2 separate regions of the Homo sapiens genome follow, and region 1 is linked to region 2. Evidence: promoter capture Hi-C in human tissues and cell types (Jung and others, 2019). All regions are on one chromosome and are shown on one strand. Each heading gives the region's core, a stretch centred on a gene start or on the middle of the fragment in contact. The rest is flanking DNA. Distances are from core to core; before and after follow the strand shown. Region 1 has its middle 150 kb from the start of ZNF519. Region 2 holds the start of MC2R (melanocortin 2 receptor).

The links. The method cuts DNA at HindIII sites, captures the fragments that hold promoters and counts their contacts. A contact is called where the count stands out against the background at its distance.
Region 1: a fragment that was not itself captured here is called in contact with the fragment with the promoter of MC2R in region 2 in 2 of the 25 tissues and cell types used here (lymphoblastoid cells and spleen).

What each region holds. Positions count from the first base shown.
Region 1 is chr18:14,279,851-14,285,726 of GRCh38, reverse strand. No RefSeq gene overlaps it. Among named protein-coding and RNA genes, the nearest start is that of ZNF519, 150 kb to the right of the region's middle. The HindIII fragment of the contact is 3,687 bases long and covers 1-3,271 here.
Region 2 is chr18:13,911,167-13,916,828 of GRCh38, reverse strand. It overlaps MC2R (melanocortin 2 receptor), which reads left to right and starts at 1,293. Exons shown (of 2, transcript NM_000529.2): 1 at 1,293-1,341. The HindIII fragment of the contact is 21,573 bases long and covers 1-5,662 here.

The sequences.
Region 1 (5,876 bases), core at 179-2,678, 370 kb before region 2:
CACATGTTGTATAAACCTGTTATACAACCAGATTTCCTGAGAACTCACTATCACAAGGTCAGCATCAAGAAGATGTTGCTTAACCATTGGTGAAAGATCTGCCCCCTACCATCCCCACCCCCCACTGTTTCCAGGCAGAAGCCTCAGGCAGAGGCAGAGCCACTAGGAAAACCTCTGCTACGGCAGTGCAGAAAAAATATATGGGCCTGGAGGCCCCACACAGGAGGTCACCAACCTCCAGACCCCAGATTCATAGACCCACCAGCAGCTTGTACTCTCAGTATGGAAAAGCTACAGGCACTCAACACCAGCCCAACCCATGAGAGCAAACATGGGGGCTAAAGCCTTCAAAGCCACAGGTGCACTGCCCTTGTTTAGAGGTTTTCCATGAGCTCTGCCTCGGCAGCAGGCTACTCCCCCTTCCTACGGTCCACCACCCTCTCACCACGCTACTGCCAGCCTATTCCTCCCCACCCTACCCACTTGTTTTCTCTTCACCCCTACCACTCTGCCCTTTGTGGTTAAATCGCCTCCCACTAGGCCCCACCTACAACAGTCAGGATTACAATTCCCCATGAGATTTGTAGGGAAACACAGCCAAACCATATTACTCTGACCCTGACACCCCCACATCTCATGTCCTTCTCACACAAAAAAATACAAACATGCATTTTCAAAAGTTTCAAAATGTCTTAACTCACTCCAGCAGTAACTCAAATGTAGTAAATTCAAGTCTCAACCAAGAGAAGGCTGCAATCTCTTCTGCCTATGAGTTCCTGAATGTAAAAGACAATTCTTTTCTTTCAAGTTACAATGATGGCACAGGCACTGGGTAAGCTTTCTCAAACCAAAGGGAAGATTTTCCCAGAAAAATAACACAAATGGGACACAGGCCCAATCCGAGTCCAAAACCCAGCAGGACAGCATTCATTTATCATGAGAACTCACTATCACACAGACTGCATTAAGGAGATAGTATTTAACCATTTGTGAAGGATCTACCACCCATCCCCATGTTTCACCCTCACCCACACCATGAACCTCCATTCTCCCACATCTGCCTTCCAATCCTCATTCTCTACCATGATTAAATCACCTTCTACCAAGCCCCACATTTAACATTCCCCATTACAATCCCACATGTGTTTTGGTAGGGACACAGAGCCAAATCATATTATTCTCCCTTTGGCCCCCCAATCTCATATCCTTCTCATACTGCAAAATACAATGATGCATTCTCTACAGTCCCCCAATGTCTGAACTCATTCCAGCATTTACTCAAATGTCCATTTGTGAAGGATCGGCCCCCACCCCTGCCTTTCACCCCCAACCCCACCACAATTGCCCCAAGCCTTCCCACCCCCCAATCCCCCACCTCCCCACCACCACAATCCCCCTAACCCACCCCACCCCACAATCCCCCCAACACTCCCCACCCTCCCAACCATCCAACCTCCACTCTCCACCATGATTAAATCACCTTCCACCAGCCCCCACCTTTAGCATTTCCCATTAAAATTCCACATGAGTTTTGGTAGAGACACAGAGCCAAAACATATTATTCTGTCCCTGGTCCCCCAAAGTTCATGTCTTTCTCACATTGCAAAATGCAATGATGCCTTCCCTACAGTCCCCCAAGTCTTAACTCATCCCAGCATTTACTCAAATATCCAAAGCCCAAAGTCTCTTCTGAGACAAGGCTGCCATATCTTTTGCCCCGAGCCTCTGAAATACAAAGCAAGTTAACCACTTCCAAGGTACAATGGTTGTACAGGTATTGGGTAAGCATTCCCAGCCAAAAAGAAGAAATTTGCCAGAAAGAAGCACAAAACACAGATGGGACTTAGAAACTCCCTGCAAGTCAAACACCCAGCAGGCCAGTCATTCCATCATATAGCTCCAAATCATCTTTTTGGAATCTATGTCCACATCCAGAGCACAGGGTGGTGTGACAGCTGGGATCCCAAGGCCTTGGGCAGCTCTGCCCCTGTGGCATTGCAGAATCTTTCCCCCACAGCTGCCCTCATTGGCTAGCCTGGTGTTGAATGCCTGTAGCTTTTCAACACTGAGGGTGCAAGCAGTTGGTGGGTCTATGAAACTGGGGTCTGGAAAATGGTGCCTCCCTGTATGGGGACTCCAACCCTATATTCTTCTGTACTGCCCCAGTAGAGTTTTACCATGAGGCTCTGCCTCTTGGAAAAGCTTCTGGCTGGACACTCAGGCTTTCCAATATATCCTCTGCAGTCTAGATGAAGGCTCTGAAGCTTCTAGTCCCTGCTTTATGCACCTGCTGGCTTGACACTATGTGGAAGCCACCAAGGCTTGGAGCTTGCATCCTCTGAAGCAGTGACACAAGCTGTACCTGTGCATCTTTCATCCATAGCTGGAGCTGGAGATGGAGCTGCAGGGATGCAGGCAGCAGTGTCCTGAGGCTGTACACAGCAGTGGAGCCATGGGGCTGGGCCAGGAAACTATTCTTTTCTCCTAAGCCCTAGGGCCCTTGACAACAAGGTCTTCTACAAAGGTCTCTGAAATGCCTTCAAGGCCTTTTTCCCATTGTTTTGAATCATTAGCACTGGGATCCTTTTTATGCAAATATCCGAGGCCTTCTTGATTTTCCCCTGAAAATCAGCTTTTCTTTTTGACCAGATTACAAATTTCCCAAATGTTGAATCTCTGCTTCTCATTTAAATATAAGTTCCAACTTATGGTCATTTCTTTGATCACACATAGGAGCACAGGCTGTTCGATGTAGGCAGCACAGCTCTTGAGGTTTGCTGCTTAGAAGTTCATTCCACCAGATACACCCTAAATCATCATCCTCAAGTTCAGTTTCACAGATCTCCTGGGAAGGGTCACTGTGTAGCCAATTACTTTGCTAAGGCAAAACAAAAAAACCTTGGCTCCTCTTCCCAGTAAGTTCCTCATTTTCATCTGAGACCTTACAAACCTGGCCTTCACTGTCCATCCTTCTGTCAGCCTTTTAATCACAACTATTTAACAAGTCTCTGCAACGGTCCAAACTTTCCCTCATCTTCCTGTCTTCTTCCAAGCTCTCCAAACTCTCGAACCTCTGGCCATTACCCAATTTGGAATCTGCTTCTACACTGTCAGCTATCTTTGTTGCAGCCTGGCAATGTGGTAAAAGAAGAAAAGTCCATTATCAGGGGGAAACATCAAGATGGCCTCCAATATCTGCATTGAAAAAAGCTCAGTGCTAATAGCCAAGAGATTGGGGGAAAGGCCTAGAATTCATTTCATAGCTTTACTTCACAGCATTAATTTTCTGTATCTACATAAAGAAAAGAGGTGTAATTGACTCACAGTTCTTCAGGCTGTAAAGAAAGCATAGTGGTTTTTGCTTATAGGAGGACTCAGGAAGCCTCCCAATTATACCAGAAGGCCAAGCAGCAGTGAAATGTTTCATATGGCAGGAGTAGAAGCAAGACAGAGAGAGGAAAGAGGTGCGACATCCTGTTATACAACTAGATCTCATGAGAGCTCAGTATCAGGAGATCAGCATCAAGAAGATGGTGCTTCACTGTTGGTGAAGGATCCGCCCACTATCCCATATCCACCACCCACTGTTTCCAAGCAGAAGCCTGAGGCAGAGGCAGATCCTCTTGGAAAACCTCTACTAGGACAGTGCAGCAGGAAAATGTGGGCTTGGAGCCCCCATGCCACCATCCTCCAGACCCAAGAGTCATAGACCCACCAACAGCTCACACCCCCAATATGGAAAAGCTACAGGCACTCAACATCAGCCCAGCTCATGAGAGCAGCTACAGGTGCTAAACCCTGCAAAGCCACAGGTGCACTGCCTCAGTAGAGTTTTTCCATGAGCCTCTGCCTCTGCGGCATGCTACTCCCCTTCTGCTACACGCCACCCTACAGCCAGCTTACCCTCCCCACCTTACCCACCAGTTTTTAATTCCAACCCCACCCGTCTCCCATCCATGAATAAATCACCTCCCACCACGCCCCACCTGCAACATTCGGGATTACAATTACATGTGAGTTTAGGTAGGGACACACAGCTAAACCATATTATTCTGACCCTGATCCCCCGAATATCACATCCTTCTCACAGAGTAAAATACAGTCATGCCTTTGCAAAAGCTGCTGAAAGTCTTAAGTCATTTCAGCATTAATTCAAATGTAAAAAGTTCAACATCTCACGTGAGAAAAGGCTACAGTTCCTTTTGCCTATAAGTTCCTGAATTTAAAAGGGAGTTCTTTTCTTTCAAGGTACAATGATGGTACAGGCATTGTGTAAGCTTTCTCAATCCAAAGGTGAGATGTTTGCCAGGAAAACAACACAAATGGGATCACAGGGCCAATGCAAGTCCAAAACCCAGGAGGCCAGTATCCATTCACTCTCATGGCTCCAAAATCATCACGAGAACTCACCATCATGAGGAAAGGATTAAGGAGATGGTGTTTAACTATCTGTGAGGGATCCTCCCCCCACCCCCACTTTTCACCCCTCACCCCCACCATAAACCACCCATTCTCCAAAATCCCCACTTTCCAACACCCAGTGCCCTCCACGATTAAATCACCTTCCACCTGGTCCCACTTTTAACATTTCTGATTACAATGCCACATGAGTTTCCACAGGGACACACAGCCAAATCTTATTATTCTGTCCCTGCCCCACAAATCTCATGTCCTTCTCACTTTGCAAAATACAATGATGCCTTACTTACTATTCATCAACCACTATGCTTTTTTTTTACAGCCTGCAGAACCATGAGCCAATCAAACCCCTTTTTGTTATGATCATACAGAAAATTAGTACTGTGAAGTGAAGCTATGAAATGCCTTCAATGACTTTTCCCAATCGTCTTGGCTAAGACCCCCAAGGCCGTAACTCATTCCAGCATTCACTTAAATGTCTGGAGCCCAAAGTCTCATCTGAGACAAAGATGCAGTCCCTTCTGCTCCTGAGCCTCTGATATACAAAGCAAGTTAACTACTTCCAAGGTATGATTGTCCAGACATTGAGTAAGAATTCCCAACCAAAAGGAAGATTTTTGCCGAGAGAAGAACAAAACACAAACGGGACTTACAGGTCCCATGAAAATCCAAAACCCAGCCGGCCAGTTATTCAAACCTACAGCTCCAAAGTCATCCTTTTTTAATCCTTGTTCGACATCCAGGACACAAGGGTATGAGGGCGGGGTTCCCAAGGCCTTGGGCATTTCTCTACCTGTGGCTTTGCAGTGTTCAGTCCCCACAGCTGCCCTCATGGGCTGTGCTGGTGTTGACTGCCTGTAGTTTTTACCCACAGAGGGTACATAGTTCTTGGTGGGTCTATAAATCTGGGGTCTGCATGATGCTGGCATCCAGTGTGGGGGCTCCAACCCCATATTTTCCTTCTGCATTGCCCTAGTAGAGGTTTCCCAGGAGGCTCTGCTTTTTGGCAGCCTTCTGTCTGGACACCCGGGCATTTTCATACATCTTCCGAAATCCATATGAAGGCTCCAAAGCCTCTGGACTAGTGCTCTGTGCATTCACTGGCTTAACACTATGTGGAAGACATGAAGCCTTATAGCCTGTACCCTCTGAAGCAGTGATGCAATCTGTACCTGTGCATCTTTCAGCCAAGGTCGGAGCAGGAGCTGGGGCTGCTGGGATGCAGGCAGCAGTGTCCTGGGGATGCACACAGCAGCAGGGTCTTGGGGCTTGCCCAGGAAACCATTCTTCTCTCCTAGGACCCAGGGCCTGACAGCAAGTGCTGCTGCAGACATCTCTGAAATGCCTCCAAGGCTTTTTCCCCCATTGTCTTGGCTATTAGCACTGGCCTCCATTTTATGCAAGTTTCTGGAGCCTTCATGAATTTTCCCCCTGAATATCAGCTTTTCTTTTTGACC
Region 2 (5,662 bases), core at 44-2,543:
GCCGAGGCTCGCCTCCTCCAGACAGTGTTCCCATTGTCTGCAGCCTGCCTGATGTCCCACTCCCCAGGGCTGGCCACCGGTTTTCCCAATCAGCTAATCAGATCCACAGATCTCTGACAAAGGGCCTCTGCTTCTGCAAGTACAAGGGCTAAGGACGAGTTGTCTCTACTTTTCCAGATAATACAGTAGCTTTCTGGAGGCAATGCCTTGCTTTTCTCTGTTATCTCAACTACATGACTGAAGAGGGAAAGAGGCCTGTGGAACGCCGGGTTTCAGCTGCAGGGCATGTTGCGGAGGCACACACCTACTCAGAAACAGTCGAAGTCTGGGATGATCCTGGGTCCATGAGTTCCTGGGGACAACACGCTTTGCCTCAGTGACAGGCCAGGAAAAGCCACTTTATAAAATTGTGTTTACCCGCCTGGCAAATTCAACTCAGGTCTCTCTCTTTGGTCTTTTCCAGACCACCCACGTGTGAACACTTTTTAGCTTGGGGCGGAAGCTCACATTTCAGAAACAGCCACTGGTTTGGCCCCAGCCCCAAAAACCCAGGACCATCTGGAAACTTGGCCCAATTCCACACTTCAACATTCCTGTTGCTGTGACTGACACCAACAGTAGCCCTTCCCTGCAGGCCCCGGCAGGCAGAAAACACACAGCATTGCACCCTAAAATGGAAGAATTTTGCTTTGAATGATGGCTCTTATCTATGGCGGTTTCTGTGAAGTTTTTGGACGGAGAAGCATTGGCAGAACACAGGGTTTTTTTCTTGTCTGGACCCATGCGTCATATGTGCACTTGAGCACACAGTTCCCTCACTCTCATTGTTTAGTCTTGTGAAATAGGGATAATGGGGCTATTCCCTTCTTCTTAATGAAACTAATGAGCCAAATATTTGCAAGATATATCAAGAAGTTTGCTAGAAGTTTTAAAACAAATTCTTCCAAAACCATTTTCTCAAAAACCTGATTTATTTAATTCCTTAGTTCTTTTTGGAAATAAATGCAACTCTAAAGTGGCATTTAAAAAGAGCAAGATGACAATTCCATAATCTGCTAGAAACATTGTCATAAACATTGGAAGTAACCTTGACTAGCTGAGCTCATGGAAATTATGTCTTCATCTGCCTGTGTCTTTCCATTTCTCTAACTTCACATTACCAGAAATGCACAGTTCATGTGGGATGACATTTATTCAAGGTAATGATAACAATCTAGCTGTATCTCCGGTGATGCATGTGTTCCGGCCCTTCCCGGCCCAAGGTCCACTTGCTTGCTTTTCTCTCCGAGCTCATTCCTTCTCATTCATTTTGCCCAGAAAGTTCCTGCTTCAGAGCTGAAGGTAAGTACATTTTCCACTAATTCCTCAGCTTGCTAAGTGCTTTTGGACCATGAATAGAGCAGCTAGGAACAAATCTGAGAAGAGGTACTATTCAGAATTCCTCCAAATAGCTCATCTTTTTAATTATGGGCTTTCATCCTTCCTAAGGGAGTTTATTATTTTTCTAATTAAACTACTACAATGAAGGCTATTACCTTTTTGTCTAGCTAAAACAATCTTCCCTATTAATGAATTTATTGGCTTCTCTAGTACTCTTCAAATTGTCATTGAGCTCTATTCAAGGACTACAGCCAGTTTTTTCCTAATAGAATTAGGGGTGAAACAAATCATGCTTCTATTATCACTTCTGGAGTTAGCCCCTTCACCTGATCAGCTTGTCTAGGTGTAAGAGTGCGGGGGTTTTAGCGCCACAAAGACGTGGGCATGCGGCAGCTTCCTGAACCTCAGGCATTGGTGTCTAAGCAACTCCACCATCCACACGTGTGACGTTACAGTTCTGGGAGATGCACGCACACTTTCTGTGCCTTTCTCAACCACTAGCTCAGTCAGCCTCCACCTTCCTAGGCAGCAACACGGGGTGCAGGATAAACAATAACTAAAAGCATACTGATTATCACATACTCCTGCAAAGTGTTTGCACCCAGAAAGCATGCAGTCACTGCCATCATGAGGGGCTCACACCTTCCTTTGGCTGGCTCTGTCGGGGGGCACATGTTACCTAGAAAAGAGGCCCAGGCATTCGATTAAACAGCTCTTCTTCATATTTCAGTTTGTCTAAGCTGCCTTCAGATAACTGTCCCCATTCTTCACTTACACACACACACTCATACACACACATATACACACATACACGTGCACACTTGTAAACATACATACATACATGCATGCAAAAAGTCCAAAAGGGATAGGAATGGGAAAGGGGTACAAAGGGGTCCAGAGAGTACAGCCTTGAGCAGATCAGAAGGAGGAGTGCTCCTCACATGCCCTCCCCACCCCATCCCCGGAGTGGGAGTGAAGCGGTGGTCACAGGCTCTGCTCACACATTCATGCCTAGATCAAGCTGTACCGAACCCTTATGTGCTGGGCCTTGTTGCAAGCCTAAGTCAGAGTGGAGCCTCCTGGAGCCCCGGCGCTGAGGACAGCGCACACTGAGACAACACTTCACACTAGCTCCCAGACAGGACACACACCCACAAAGAGCTGTGGGAGCAGGGAGACGGGAGCCCTCACCCTGCCTTTGGGACACCGCTTAGGCCGCGGCAGGGGTGGAGGAGGGCATGAACCAGGGTAATGGGGTAGATAAGCTCCAAAGCCATCCTGACTTCTCAGTGGATCCTGAATCTCTGGCAGAGGAGGTTTTTGCTCAGCAGCAAATTGCCCTCTCACTGCCTCAGAGCAACTTAAGACATCTTAAAAAAAAAAAAAAATCCTATTCTTTACCTTGTTAATGATCCCAGGTATGTTTCCTATGGAATCCTTAGTGTCTAATACATTTTAATGAGAGCTTTCTTGTCTGTGTAAGCCACATTCCTTGCCTTCATTAGGCAAATATAATTGCTGTGGGCCAGGTTGTCTGCAGGGCTCAGCCTCAGACATGGTCAGGGCAGGTCTTATCCTAAGGAACTCAGATCCATCTGCAGGGTTTTCATGTGAATAATGCCGTTGTAGAAATAAGAACAAACAGCTACAGGTGCATAGACGGGCAGCAATCCTGGGCTCCCTTGGGATGCGGGGGCAGTGGAAGAGAGTCTGTACTTGGGCAAGGACACAGTGCTGAGTGTGAGAAGTGAGGAAGGACGTGTCCAGGCCCAGGGAGAGAGAACGTGTGAACAGACAGGCAAGCGCTGGTGCAGACCCACCCAGTGGGCCTTAAAGTGTGGTGGAGTCCTAAAGTCTTAACTTCTCTGTTCTCTGACTATGAGCCGCCAGGGTACAAAATTTGGAAGATGGTTTTAAAGTAAGTTCTCAACTCAAAATATGCGTGTGCCAAGCGCTGTGCTAGCAGCATGGGTAACGCACAGAGCCTGACTTGGTGGGAGAACAACATGTGCAAACTACAGAGACTAATCAACCTAGTAGGTGTCCCAGCATCAAAACCTGGGGGCAGCAAGCGTTTGTGTGAGCAGCACAGCCGTGGCAGGGAAAGGTCCGAGTGGGTCACACTGGCAGGAAGGCACCGTGGAGGAAGCCTGCCATGAGCAGTGAAGCTCAGAGGACGGGAGATGTGAGCGGGTGGAAGGTGGTGGTCCAGGTGAGGCTGTGCAGGGAGCTGAGCATCACACTGATTTCCAACCAGAACACTCCAGCCTGGGCTTCATGCCTCCCTAGCTGTGAGCTCCTGCAAAAGCTTCCATTCTCGGGACTTTCCTTCGCTCGTCCTAAGATGTGATCACATTGTCATTCATGCCTAATTTCCAGTCTTGTGTATATTAAAAAAGAAATTATACTGTAAGCAGCAGTTCTCTGTGAAGTGTCGGAAAAGCTGTAAACCTGCCCAGCGGCCTGCAAGATGATCACACCGAGAGATGCTTCTGCCTGTGCCCGGCATGGGGAAAAAGAATAAAGCCACCCCCAAAATAAGGCTCCCTTGAAGGCCTCTCATAATTGAGCCTATGCGGAATTCAAAACAAGATGTGCGCTGGATTCAGATGAGCCATTGCCTACCATAGCGAGCTCTGCTGGCTGCAGCCAGTCTTCACAGTGATAAGCGTAACTTATAACTCTGTAAGATCAACATCAGTAAGTTCAAGGAAAACTGACTTCAGCTGGAGACAGTGACTGGGCCCTAGCAAAGCAGTTGGGATGGTCCGGGAGCAGAAAACAACGTAGAAATTCATCTGTCCTTGAATTTTTCCTATTTCAACAGAGTATTGATTAATTGATTAATAATAATCTACAAGTTTTATTATGGTGCTATGTTGTTATTTTGTTTTATTTAGCACCAAAACAGCCTCAGAGTCCTGAGCCCCTCAGTTCCCAGCTCCTCCCACAGCTCTTGGCCCAACCTGACCCGGTCCTCCTACCCATACCTGTTTCAGAGCTAGGCTTGTCCTGCTTCCAAACACTCAGCCTCTCAGGCTCTTTGGAATAACCAAGCGAGCACAGACCTTGGAATGAGGCAGATTCGCAGCTGGGTGACCTTAAGCAAGTAACCCAACCTCCCTGAGCCTCCGTTTTCTTATCTATAATATAGGCAGGGGAGCAGGAAATAGGAACACCTACCCTTTATGTGTAACTGGAGCATTAAGAGAGAATACCTTTCACTCTGCCCTGTCTCCAACCTTTAACATTGCAAGAGAAACCATGGCAAAATCAAATTGCCCTTAAAGTGCAGAATTGTAAGGATGTGCTGAGGTATCCTGGAATCTGCTGTTTTACCTGGTTGAGTATTAAGTAAAATTGCTGAACATGCATTGTGGGCCCAACACAGTACAGAATGAATTACCTAAAGCACTCGTAAGTGAAGCCAATTCTTTTCCATGCCATCCACACCATGGAGCAGTTCTGACCCCAATTTGCAAGTGACCAAAGGCTCACCTGTCCTCTTTCTCAGCTGTGCATGTCTTACCTCCTCAGCTAGATGTTCATAGGCAGTACGGTGTTTCCTGTATCTTTTGGATTTCCAATGACATATAACCTAAAATTGGATCCTAGAGGTGCTAAAAACTGCCAATTCTTTAAGTGATTACTTGGATTAAAGCCCCCAAAAGATCTTAAATCTTTCTTCCTCCTGCCCTCCTCATATGCCCCAATCTCCTTTTTCCCAGTTAACATCCCCCAGACCCTAGGATGGAGACCCTGTCATAGATGGCGCAAAGCCAGTGACTCCAGAGCAAGGTCCAGAAGCCAAAGCTACCCGCTGCACTCATGGTGGCCCTGGGGTCTGATTGGGCTGGACTCGGCCACTTTTTAAAGGTGGGGCGAATAGGAGCTAGGTAAGGCAGAGAAGTCTTCCAGGCACTCGTCCAAAGATACCCAGCAAATTTTAAAGCCTTCATCTGGGAGAAAAAGCAGATCTTTACTGACATCCTTTTATTTCATGGCATTTGTTTGGCTAACTAAACCAGTTATAAACTAGTTTATGCTTTTTCAAAAGAGGAAATTTTGAGCCATTTCAGAGATGAGAATGAAAATGGGACTGTGCAGGGAAGAATTTAGTACTAGTTTTTAAGGTAAAACAAGGACTTGATGGAGTTTCTTTATCTAATAAAAAGGGAGCTCCAGGAGAGGCTGCAGGCTGCCTGGGTTGCTCCCTGACACTCCGGCCCCTGCTCTCGGCTGCCCGGCCCTCAGCTCCTCTCCTGTCCCTGTGTCCTTTGGC